Linked DNA regions of Homo sapiens: regions 2 and 3 are each linked to region 1. The links are contacts of gene promoters, found by promoter capture Hi-C in blood cells and fetal thymus (Javierre and others, 2016). All regions are on one chromosome and are shown on one strand. Each heading gives the region's core, a stretch centred on a gene start or on the middle of the fragment in contact. The rest is flanking DNA. Distances are from core to core; before and after follow the strand shown. Region 1 holds the start of ABTB1 (ankyrin repeat and BTB domain containing 1). Region 2 holds the start of HMCES (5-hydroxymethylcytosine binding, ES cell specific). Region 3 holds the start of SLC41A3 (solute carrier family 41 member 3).

Region 1 (3,758 bases), core at 586-3,085:
AGCAGCATGGGTCCACTCTCACTGGAGGCCTAGGGCCACAGTGAGCTCAGACTCAGCGGCTGGGGCAGAAGCTATGGTGGGATGTGAAGGAGGCTGGGAACATGGGCATGGGGTGGAGAGGCCTCCAGGTGTACTGAGGCAAACGGGATGGGCATGGGGTAGAGGCAAGCCCAGGCGCCAGGGAACTTCAGGAGCCGGGAGTGCCAGCACCTTCTAAGCCTGCTCCCCCATCCCCACCCGAGCCCAATGCAACCACCCCAGAGGAGCCATGGCACCCCAGGACCTCAGCTGAGGAAACTGGCCCCTCCCACCCCTAGATTGGCATCCAGAACTATTCCACAACCAGCAGCTGCCAGGCGCGGGCCAGCCAGGTGCGCAGCGACTACGGCACGCTCTTCGTGGTGCTGGTGGTCATTGGGGCCATCTGCATCATCATCATTGCGCTTGGCCTGCTCTACAACTGCTGGCAGCGCCGGCTGCCCAAGCTCAAGCACGTGGTGAGTGTGGGGACAGGTGGGGCTGGGGGCCAGTTGAGAGGAGAGTGCCCATCGATAGGTGTCCTCATCTGCAAGGGGAGGCAGTGACTCTCCTGGGCGCACAGGGTCCCGTGGGTGAAGCAGCTGGTCAGCCTAGCACTGCTGACTGCTCTGCAGGGCACCAGCCCCAGGACAGGTGCCAGAGGTGCAGGGAGTGAGGGGGCTGCTAGCCCCACCAGGGGGCCCCTCCCTGGCACCACCAGCCCCTTTCCGGCGCAGGCACTGCAGGGCCTGAGCACCTGAATACCTCACCAGAGGCAGGCCCTGCGTTGGTGGTGCCCAAGGATCAAGGAGAGGCTCCAGCAGCCTAGAGGCCTCCCCAGGAGGAAGCGAGCAGAGCCCTAGCGATGCTCCCTGCCCACCTCGCAAGTGGAGTCTTCTTAGGGGGCTGTTGGGGGATCGATGACGTCAGGGAGGCCACGGGGCTTTGTAGTGCCAACGACTAGTAGGTTTATTTTGAGAAAGGAGTTGAGCTGCAGCAACAGAAAAGAAGGATCTGGCACCTGTGGAGGGTGCCGCGGGAACCCCCTGGGTGGGGTTGCACAGACGGCCGCGGGCCTGGCGCTGTCCGGGGGCTGGCTCGCTCGCCCATGGCCTCTCCCCACCCCGCCTCAGTCGCACGGCGAGGAGCTGCGCTTCGTGGAGAACGGCTGCCACGACAACCCCACGCTGGACGTGGCCAGCGACAGCCAGTCGGAGATGCAGGAGAAGCACCCCAGCCTGAACGGCGGCGGGGCCCTCAACGGCCCGGGGAGCTGGGGGGCGCTCATGGGGGGCAAGCGGGACCCCGAGGACTCGGACGTGTTCGAGGAGGACACGCACCTGTGAGCGCAGCCGAGGCGCAGGCCGAGTGGGCCGCCAGGACCAAGCGAGGTGGACCCCGAAACGGACGGCCCGGAGCCCGCACCAGCCCCGCGCCTACCCGGGCCGCCCCCGCGGCCTGGCCCTCGGCGCGGGCTCCTTCCCGCTTCCCCCGACTTCACACGGCGGCTTCGGACCAACTCCCTCACTCCCGCCCGAGGGGCAGGCCTCAAAGCCCGCCTTGGCCCCGCTTTCCCGCCCCTGAACCCCGGCCCCGCGGGCGGCGGGCGGCGCTTCCTGCGCCCCGGGACTCAATTAAACCCGCCCGGAGACCACGCCGGGCCCAGCGCGTCTGCCTTCTTGACTCATTCTTATTTCCGGGGTTGGGGCGGGGCGGGGCGGGCGGGGCACCCCGGGGCAGGGGCGGGGCCGCGGGGCGGGGAGGCCGGGGCGGGCGGGTCCTCCGGACGCCGCTGCAGAGCGGGGCGGGGCGGGGCTGAGCGTGTTTACATCCGCCGGGTGCGCGGCTTCGCCGCCCGAGGTCGTTCGGCTCGGGTACCATCCTCCGCGCCATGGACACCAGCGACCTGTTCGCCAGCTGCAGGAAGGGGGATGTGGGCCGAGTGCGGTGAGGACCTCGCAGTCCCGGGGAGGGTGCGGGAGGTGGCCGCCCTCGGAACGCCTCGGGCCCTGGGACGGGCGGCTGGGCGGCCGCGGAGAGGCGGGCGCCTCTGCCGGGTCACAGCCCTCGGAGCGCCCCCGCGGGGCAGACCACCCGGACCCCCGCCGCAGCCCCCCAGCGGAAGCGCGCTGGGGCGGGGACACTGATGGCCATTGACCCCCGGAGGGCTTCCTGTAAGAAGGGACTGCTCAGCGGAGGCCCGAAGGCGCAGAAGTGGGCGGAGAGAAGGCGGGCCACTGTTCGCCCTGGTAGGGCCCGGACGTCAGACCCCCCGGGCGCAGGGCGCGGGTATAGGCCTGGGACTCCAGACGTGGCCCCTTTCTCTCGTGCTCTCTGGACCTGGCGCGGGGAACACCTAGAGCCCATAATCGGCCTCCGGTCCCTGAGGATTCGGAAACTCCTGACGCAGCTAAAGTGAATCTGGCGCTGAGATGCCCCCTCCATGGGCCGGACGCGGAGGGAAGGGGTGCCCAGTTGGGTTCTGGGGCCCTTCCCCTCCTTGGGCTTCCACTATCCCGTTTGACCTCCTTTTTTCTTGGCCCTTCCTCCCCCTTGACCTGGTGCTGACTGACTGCTTCCACCTCCCCTGGGCTGGCGCCGGGCTGCTGTACTCCCGTAGCCTCCCTGGGCCGCTCCCTGACATCCCGTGCCACTCAAGAGTTAGTGCATAGTGTCAACGCTGAGTGGGTTCACAGCACTTCCAGGTGCAGCCTGGAGGCCTCCTTTGGGCTGCCCCCGCCTCAGTGGGGCTGCATTAGCATTGGCGACTCCCCTCGCTCACCTTCCGCATCCCATCAGTTGCTGTATCCCGCGACTCCTGCCTCCTAGAATTGTGTGCCCTCCACACCATCAGGAGGCCTGCAGCAGCTTTTTCCCGGGCTCCCTGCTTCTAACAGGGCCAGCTTCTTCCTGCAGTAGAGAGCTCTGGTGGGAGTGAAGGCTCCATCACCTCCTCTCCCAAACGCTGAAAGGCCAAAGGTCCAGCCTCGGCACTGGCTCTGGCTTCTGTCCCTGTAGCCCATCGTCCCCCAGCACTGATAGCACACAGTGTCTGCCTGTTCGACCCCACCTCCACATCCTTGCCTGCACTTTGCCTTGAGTGCCTCTCCTGCTCTGGTCTGCCTGTCACCTGCCCTCACCTGGGGGAGGCTTCCCCATACCAAAAGGGATGTTTTCTCTCCGTTCCTTTCCACGGGCCTTCTTTCTCAGACCATGAACCCGTCCTGACCCAGGCTCTGACCTCCTTCCTGCCCAGGTACCTGCTGGAGCAGCGAGACGTGGAGGTGAATGTGCGGGACAAGTGGGACAGCACCCCCTTGTGAGTGCTGGAGAGAGGGGTGGGGAGGGTGGGGGTTGGTGCACCCCTTCAGCACTGAGGACTGCCTCCTGTACTTCCTTCCTCCCTTCAGGTACTATGCCTGCTTGTGTGGGCACGAGGAGCTGGTACTCTACCTTCTGGCCAATGGTGAGAGCAGGGAGCCCGGCTCACGGGTGTGCGTGGGTGCATGCATGTGTGCGTGTGGGTGCATGCATGCGTGCGTGCATTCAAAGGCCTTGATACACATTTGCAAAGCACCACGATTCCTCTCTTACCACCCAGTCGAATCAGCAAGTACTATTATTGCTACTTTAAAACCTTTTCTCTGTCCACCTTGCCCATCTCTACTTCTACGACCTGGGCCCAGTCATCAGCATTTCTCCCCGGACACGGTGCCTGCCTCTCTCTTGCCATTGCAGCC
Region 2 (3,758 bases), core at 492-2,991, 1.6 Mb after region 1:
AGTGACTTTCACAGTGAAATCCCTCACTCAGGGATTTCAGCCCAGCTCTCCTGCCCGTTTCACTACACCAGAGCTGCCTTCATGGGTTGCTGCAAATGCCATCCTTAGCCTGCCCTGTACAGTCCCTTCTGCTGTATATATCTGTACTTCTCTCTTCCCTTCTAGGTGTGTTCCGGGGTGGTCATGACATCCTGGTGCGCTCCCGGCTGCTGCTTTTGGACACAGTGACAATGCAGGTGACAGCCAGAAGTTTGGAGGAGCTGCCAGTAGACATCATCTTGGCATCTGTGGGATAAGAGGCCAGCCTGCATAGGACCTCATACCCTTCCCCAACACTACCTGGAAGTTGTGCCTTCCTCATGAAACTGGCAGAAACCCCTTCCCAAGCTTCTGTATTGAAAAACAATTAGGAATCATTGCAGATTTTTTTTTATTCTGCTCCCACCTCCCACCCGGGACTACTTGCTGGTGACTTTTTTTTTTTTTTTTTTTAAATAGGGGATGATTTTAGCTTGTCCTAAATCTTGCTGTCCACCCTTCCAGGAAAGGGACATTGTAAATGAATAAAACATTCTCAACTCCTCTTGAATCTATCCCCCAAGAAACCATCTTATCCCTGTAATAAATCAGCATGTATTTATTGAATGATTGCTACTTCTGCAGACTCATGCTTCAGGGCTCCACCTTCCCCTTCAAGGCCTCCCCTAAAGAGGCAGAACACCTGCCCTGTCCCCCTTGCACCCACAGCCCTTTGGCTGTTGTAGTCCTGTGAGGCAGGACCCTCTCCCCGTCATCGCTGTCCCAGCACCAAGCCCAGGGGTGGGAGCGGTAGAGGGTGGTTGAGTGAATCAGCTAACAGGCAGAGTTCACACTCCCTCCCGTTCGTGCTTCTTCACAACGCATCCTCCTTTGATAGTCGATAAATGGAGGCTCCAAAGGGCTTGGGTCCTGTGTCTGATCGTTCCAGCATCTGGTCTTACATGGAGTGTGCCCTGGGGTTTCTGCTCCCTGTTCAGTTCAGCGAATCAGCATAGGCGAACAGCCCTCTAGAGCATTCTCTGTTGGTTGCAGATGAAGAATCTCCGGTTTAGGTCCCAAGGGGAGCAGGCTTTTAAACTCAAGCCAGGCTATTTTACCAACTTTGAGGCCAAAGTACACCCGAAAGGGCTGTTTTAAAAATCTGGGCCTCACCCTTAGAGATTCAGCTGAGGGGCTGGGGCAGGAAAGGCTTATTCTAGTGCCCACCAATGTTTGAGGGCGAAGTGCGCGATTCCTGGAAGTTCTTCTGACTTTCATTTCTTCAGTGTTCCTCCATTTTTGCCTCGCACTGTGAGGCAGCTGGCAGGACTGTGAAGTAAGGAGTGGAGTTTCCTGGTTTCCCGCCTTCCATGACCCTGTGCCCTAGACTCAGCGCGGCGGGAACCTTCCCTGCCAGCCCTGAAACACGCTGGGGGCGGGGAGGAAGGTTAACCCCGCCAGGGAACGGCCAATATGGAGGAAAGTGGAGTCCCGAGAAGCTTGGGATCGATATGTCTCCCAAGGCAGTCACTGTCTCCTGGGGAAACGGGAGAAAATTCATCCCAAACCGGAGGGGAGAAGACGCCGCCTCCGGGGCCCGAGGGCACCGCGGGAACCAAGGGCCCTTGGGGGCGGGGCCTGGCGCCGGGAGCGCGGGCTGAGGCGGGGCTGACGTGAGGGGCGGTGACGCGGGTGGCCAAAGCGGAGCGGAGCGGGGGTGAGGAGAGTCGAGGGAGGTGACGCGCGCTGCCGGGGCGAGGTGAGGGGAGGGGAGGCGACGCGGGCGGTCGGGGTATGGCGAGGGGAGGGGAGGGGAAAGGAAGCGACGCGAGCTGACAGAGGGGAGCAGAGGCCCGAGCGGACGCGAGGCGACGCGGAGAGGGCGGCCTGGGCCGAAGTGAGGCGACGCGGGGCGGCGGAGTCTGAGGGCCGGAGCGGAGCGGAGGCGACGCGGGGAGGGGCGAGGGATCGCGGCCGGTGGCTGGGGGCCACCTGCTCCCCGAGCACCGGCCCCCGCTCCGGGGAGCAGAGTCCGGAGCGGGATCCGCGGCCCACAGGTTCGCAGGTCGGGCCCGGGGACGCTGCGGACTAGCGGGCGGGAGGCGGGGATTCTGCACCCCGGCCCCGGGCCGTCCAGTGGCCGCCCTCGAGGTGACCGGTTGCTGGCCGGCGTGGGTCGCTGACCCCAGCGGGGACTGGGGGGAAGGACGGGGAGTTGGGGGCACCAAGTCACCCGGAGGAGGCGACCCCAGCTAGCTGCGCTTGCCCTGCTTCGCTGGACTGTGAAGCCCCCTCCGCTGCGGCTCTTCCTGCGCTCAGGCAGGCATTTGCAGAGCTCCTCTCGGGACTTGCCTCAGTGCCCTGCACGGAGCTGGGCAGTGGGCTCAGGGAGCGAAGCAAACGGGCACATCCTTGTCTTTGTGGGACTTTTTGGGGAAGACTTTAGACGGTGGTCACGGAGGGGCACGGCCCTGTGGGAACGGAAAGAGAAGGCGGGGACTCAAGGAATAAGACCTAATATTTGAGATACGTAAGCCTTTTCCTTACGTTTTGTAATTTAAAGGTTGCGAGGGGCGGTGTTGAAGAATGTGTGGGCGAACATCCTGTCACTTACCTAGAGATGTTCTCACGAGAGCTTGCGCCTACCAGGATCGGCGGGGCCAGCAGCGGCTCCCGGAGTGGAGGGACCCTGATAAGTACTGCCCCTCTTACAACAAGAGTCCTCAATCCAACAGCCCAGTGCTTCTGTCTCGACTGCACTTTGAGAAGGTAACCAGCATTGCACTATGCTAGCCCCTCGCCCAGCCTCGTGATGGTCATCTCCTATTTGGTTTGGTGTGTGCTCAGCCTCTTGGGATGACATTAAAAACCAGCCTTTACTGATATATTCTGACTTCCAGTTGAGAACCTCTCTTGGCCTCATGAAAGAAGTTTTATCAGTGGCTTCTAACACTGATAAAGACGTATTTTTCAGGCTCAATTTAAATGCCTTTGCTATACATGGCATACTAGCCTTAATATATGCCAAATTTATATGAGCTTTGTGTTTTAAAATAGCAGCTTTCACTGATCATCAGGGTCATTGGAGTATCTTAAAAATATAATAAAAAAATTTAAGGCCAGGTGCCATGGCTCATGCCTGTAACCCCAGCACTTTGGGAAGCCGAGGTGGGAGGATCACTTGAGCCTAGGAGTTGGAGACCAGCCTGGGCAACATAGGGAGACCCCATCTCTACAAAAAATAAAAAAATGAGGTGGGAAGATCACTTGAGCTGGGGAGGTCGAGGCTTCATGAGCCATGGTTGTACCACTGCACTCCCACCTGGGTGACAGATCAAGACCCTGCCTAAAGAAAAAATTTAAAAAAATAAAAAATTTAAGAATATTTCTATGCCCTTTACCAGGCCAGCTTAATCAGACTTCTCTAGGCCTAGGACAGGCTTAAGATCAGTTAATTTAAAACACTTCTGATGTTTCTTGAGCATTGAAAAGTTTTATTCTTTCTGCTTGTGTTTTCAATCTTTTTGTGTTTGTCTTTTACTAAGGCTAGAAACACGTATTTGGTTTGGTTATCTGAAGTTTAATTGCATTCATTGTGTTTATAGTATTTATCCCTGTAGTGTTGGAATTACCAGTCACTTACATTCATATTTTAGTTTTTTGCCTTATCTCCTGAAAGTGTGTGTGTCTTTGTATGTGTGTGTAATAAAAATGCTTCGTTCTAGAAAGTAATAGTTTCT
Region 3 (3,758 bases), core at 735-3,234, 1.6 Mb before region 1:
ACCTCACCACCACTAGGGCAAGGGGTGGGGAGAAGGGCCTGGAACACAGCCACAGGGCTCTGGGTCTGCCTCTGCCAGAGGCAACTGGGCAGTGACCACTCCAGGCCACACATCCTCACTCAGCCACAGTCTTGGTGAGTCACTCACACGCGTGCCTGAGGAGGTTAACCCAAGAGTGCGCAGCCACTGTGCTTGGTGACAGCAAACACCAGAGCGGCAGGTGCTGGCGCAGCCCTGATCCGTGATTCATGCTGGGAACACGTGTGCAGCTGTACCTAGAGAGCCCCAGCCCTGGTCCACCCTCACTGTGCCTGCACATGGTGCCAGAGGAAGGCCTGGCCAGGGTGACCCGGGAGCAGGGCCCAGCTGGTGTCAGCACCACACCTGCTCTGTGCCCCTTGCAGGGTGGGGGATCTCCCAGCTGTGGACATGGCCAAAGGCCCCTCAGCTCCACCTGAATGTTGGAGTGTTTGCAAGGAGAACATGCTCCAATGTCCCTGTGTCACTGACAGCTCGTGCAGATGAACAACCAAGCACAGGCTGGAGGAGGCTCCTGTGGGAAAGTGGGCTGTGGGCCAGGAAACCTCTAATCCCAGAGCCCCAGGGAGGAGCCAAGATGCCAGAAGATGCCAGTGGAGGCATTGCCTCCAAGGTCCCCACAGAGGACATTGGGCAATGTCTGCACATGGTTTTGGTTGTCCCGACAGGGGGTGATACAGGACAGCCCCCCAAAACAAAGAACTGCCCCACCCCAAATGTCAGTAGTGTGGAGGCCGAGAAACCCTGCTATGGGGCAGTGGTCAGAGACCCTTGTGCCTTGAAAGGGGCTAGGCTGGGCAGGACAGGTTGTGGACCACCTGGGGCCACAGTTCAGAGCCACGCCTGAGTCTGTGAGGCTGCCCACCCTCCCAGCTGCCAGCATGGGGTTGGGGGGTATCCGCCCCCATCAGACTGAGGAGGAAACGGACACTCTGTCACCCAGAAGCATCCCTGTGTCACCCTGTGAGGTTGGCCTTGGACCCAGGCCTCTAGGCGCCCCGTCAGCACCCCAGTGCGAACACATCCTGCCCGGGGACCTGGACCCAGCAGCTCACACAGACCAGGGCTCGCCCAAAGGCAGGCAGGCAGGGCCACTGCTGACCACGCACCTGGCTGGTCGTGATTCTGGAACTAATGGTTTCTGCCTGGCAGGGAGGCCGCCAGGACCTCTGGGCTTCACCCCTCCCCACCTTCACAGGGGACCTCGCCTCAGTGGGAATGTTCTGGAGCCGGAACCCAAGGTTGGAATCCCAGCTCCTCCCCTTTCTAGGTCTGTGACCTTGGAAAAATTAAACTTTCTGTACCTCTGTTGCCTAATCTGTGAAATGGGGTAATACTACCTACTGTGTAGGGCTGTGAAGATTAAATGGAGTCATGCATTATCATCACAGGGCACCTGGCCCATCCTCAACCCCAGTTCAGACTCCTCAAAGCCCTAAGGTTTCAGATCAATGGTCAGAACCACGAGGAGGACCTGCTAAAGACAAGTATGGGGACCCACCCCCAAGGTTTAGGATTTAGAAGGTCAGGGTGGGGCTGGGGAACCCGCATTTCTAGCAGATCTCAGGAAAGGCAGTGCTGCTGGTCCTGGGACCACAGTTTGAAAACCACTGGTGTAAAAAAAGCCTTCTAAAAAAAAGTGGGATTTGATCACTAAAGTCATATGGAAAAAACTGGAAGAAAGAGGAAAAAATAAACAAATAAATAACGGGATTTTAAAGAGACCTATCCCACCGGCTCTCCTGGATGGAGAGAGTGTGGGACTCTGAGACAGACTCCCGGCTGGGCACCCCCAGGAGGTTTTCTTCACCAGAGGTTTGCACCGAGCCCACCCAGGACAGTGGGCTGAGCCTGTGGTAGAGGCTGGCGGGAGGTCTGGCTGAGGCAGCGAGGGGTCCCTGCGCGCGGGCGCTGCAGGAGTCACGCGTGTGACATCCAACCAGGAGCCGTGCCCTGAGCAGGCCAGGAAGGAGGAGACAGGGCCGCTGAATGCACACCGCAGCGGTGTGGGGAGCGGCCTCAGACACCTAAGGGTAGGACCGGCCGGCTCCCCCGCGACCCCCAGCGCCTGGGTTCTCTCCCGGCCTCCCCGAGGCGTGGCCTACCCCAGGCATGGCCCCACCCCGCCCCAGGCCGCCCCTCCGACCCCTCGTGTTTACCTCATCTCCCGCGCGCCTTTCCCCCACCGAGTCCCCCAAATCCCGGTCCCCACCTGACTCCCCCTCCCGCCGAGCCCCCAGGGCCCGGCGCCCGGCTCACTCGCCTCCCGCGCACCCACTCCCGGGCGCCCTCTCCCGCGCGCCTCCCCGACCCCCCTTGGGCCCCAGCTGACCCCACCTTCCGCCCCAACCCCGCCCGGAACAGGGCCGCGCTTACCGGGTCCCCTCCCAGGCGGCGGCGGGAAAGAGGCGGGCGGAGGACGCAGGGGCGGGCCTGCGGCTCAGGCAGGAAGCGGGAAGGCCGGGCCTCCCTGGCCCCGCCCCGGCCGGGCGGCCGGACCTCGGACGACTTGGCGCTCCGGGACAGCAGCAGACGCCCAAGCTCCGGCAGCGCAGAGCCCCGCCGGGGGCCCGGGGGGCTGGGAGCCGGGGATCGCGGGGACGGAAGTGGGGGACCGAGTCTCGCGAGCCCGGGCCCTCCTCGCAGCTGGGGCCCCACTGGCGCCCCCGCGGGAGCGCTACGGGAGAGGCGCCTATGCGGCTGCAGGTTTTATTATGGAGCTGTCAAGGTAGAAAGGTACGGAGAACGGGAACCCACCGACAGCCAACTTCCCTTGGGACCCGCCTTTTGCTTTAAAAACAACAACGACAAGTCTGTGCTTCACCCCACACATGCCTTTCGTTTTCCCTTTTTTCCCAGAGTAATTTTAAAGCATCCCAGTGGATAAATTCTCCTTTAAATACTCGAGTATGTTTAATCAGTAAGGCCTATTTTTTTAAACATTCTCATAGTATTACGGTCACACCTAACGAAATTGGCAATTCCCAGTCCGGGCCTGAGGGAGGCCTGATGGTTCACAAGACTTGGTAAAATATATCATTATATTTTAAACCAAAAAATAAATGATAAGGCACCTCCCCGTTCCCAACCACCAAATCATCCGAATGGACTTCTTCCTCAGCCAGGACTTTTAGAATTTAACCTGAAAAACTGGTTCAGGCCATAAGGGGAAGTGGAGGCCGAACATGCCTCATTATCCCTCTCCTGCATTAACATCAACACAGACTTTAAGTCTGATAAGAAACATTTTACAGCCTCTTCTCTCTGAAGCCTGCTACCCTATCCGAATACTTCATCTGCGTGATAAAACACATTGGTCTCCACAACCTCTTAACCCAGACATTCCTTTCTTTAATCCCAGGTCTTTGGACAAACTCAACCAATTGTCAACCAGAAAATGTTTAAGTTGACCTATACCCTAGAACCACCCTCCCCCTCTTTGAGTTTTCCTGCCTTTCTGGATCAAACAAATTTATTTCTTAAATGAACTTAACTTGAAGTCTCATGCCTCCTCAGAATGTATTAAACCAAGCTGCACCCCGACCTCCTTGGGCACATGTTCTCAAGACCTCCTGAAGGCTGTGTCACTGGCTGTGGTCACTCATATTTGGCTCACAATAAATCTCTTCAAATATTTTACAGAGTTTGACTCTTCCACAATAATTTGGCACCCAGCGTGGGGCCTCAGAGAAGACTCAGGACCCCAAAGGAGTTGCCTG

Evidence for each region. Contacts are between HindIII fragments. The CHiCAGO score rates a contact against its expected background, and 5 or more counts as called.
Region 2: a contact is called between the fragment with the promoter of HMCES here and the fragment with the promoter of ABTB1 in region 1, in 1 of 17 cell types (neutrophils). The highest score is 6.7, in neutrophils.
Region 3: a fragment that was not itself captured here is called in contact with the fragment with the promoter of ABTB1 in region 1 in 1 of 17 cell types (non-activated CD4 T cells); the score reaches 5.1 in non-activated CD4 T cells.

What each region holds. Positions count from the first base shown.
Region 1 is chr3:127,671,117-127,674,874 of GRCh38, forward strand. ABTB1 (ankyrin repeat and BTB domain containing 1) reads left to right here and starts at 1,836. Exons shown (of 12, transcript NM_172027.3): 1 at 1,836-1,965; 2 at 3,275-3,337; 3 at 3,429-3,484. The coding sequence starts at 1,910. It overlaps PODXL2 (podocalyxin like 2), which reads left to right. Exons shown (of 8, transcript NM_015720.4): 7 at 318-497; 8 at 1,152-1,686. The coding sequence ends at 1,364. RefSeq lists silencers at 1,118-1,197, 1,208-1,807, 1,948-2,207. The HindIII fragment of the contact is 11,080 bases long and covers 1-3,758 here.
Region 2 is chr3:129,277,129-129,280,886 of GRCh38, forward strand. It overlaps HMCES (5-hydroxymethylcytosine binding, ES cell specific), which reads left to right and starts at 1,742. Exons shown (of 7, transcript NM_020187.3): 1 at 1,742-1,777; 2 at 2,582-2,787. The coding sequence starts at 2,605. It overlaps COPG1 (coat protein complex I subunit gamma 1), which reads left to right. Exons shown (of 24, transcript NM_016128.4): 24 at 166-645. The coding sequence ends at 296. RefSeq lists silencers at 1,597-1,946, 1,957-2,346 and an enhancer at 2,767-2,896. The HindIII fragment of the contact is 5,702 bases long and covers 1,516-3,758 here.
Region 3 is chr3:126,081,678-126,085,435 of GRCh38, forward strand. SLC41A3 (solute carrier family 41 member 3) reads right to left here and starts at 2,447. Exons shown (of 11, transcript NM_017836.4): 1 at 2,416-2,447. It overlaps ALDH1L1-AS1 (ALDH1L1 antisense RNA 1), which reads left to right and starts at 2,538. Exons shown (of 8, transcript NR_190231.1): 1 at 2,538-2,775. RefSeq lists silencers at 2,095-2,204, 2,245-2,794. The HindIII fragment of the contact is 7,725 bases long and covers 1-3,758 here.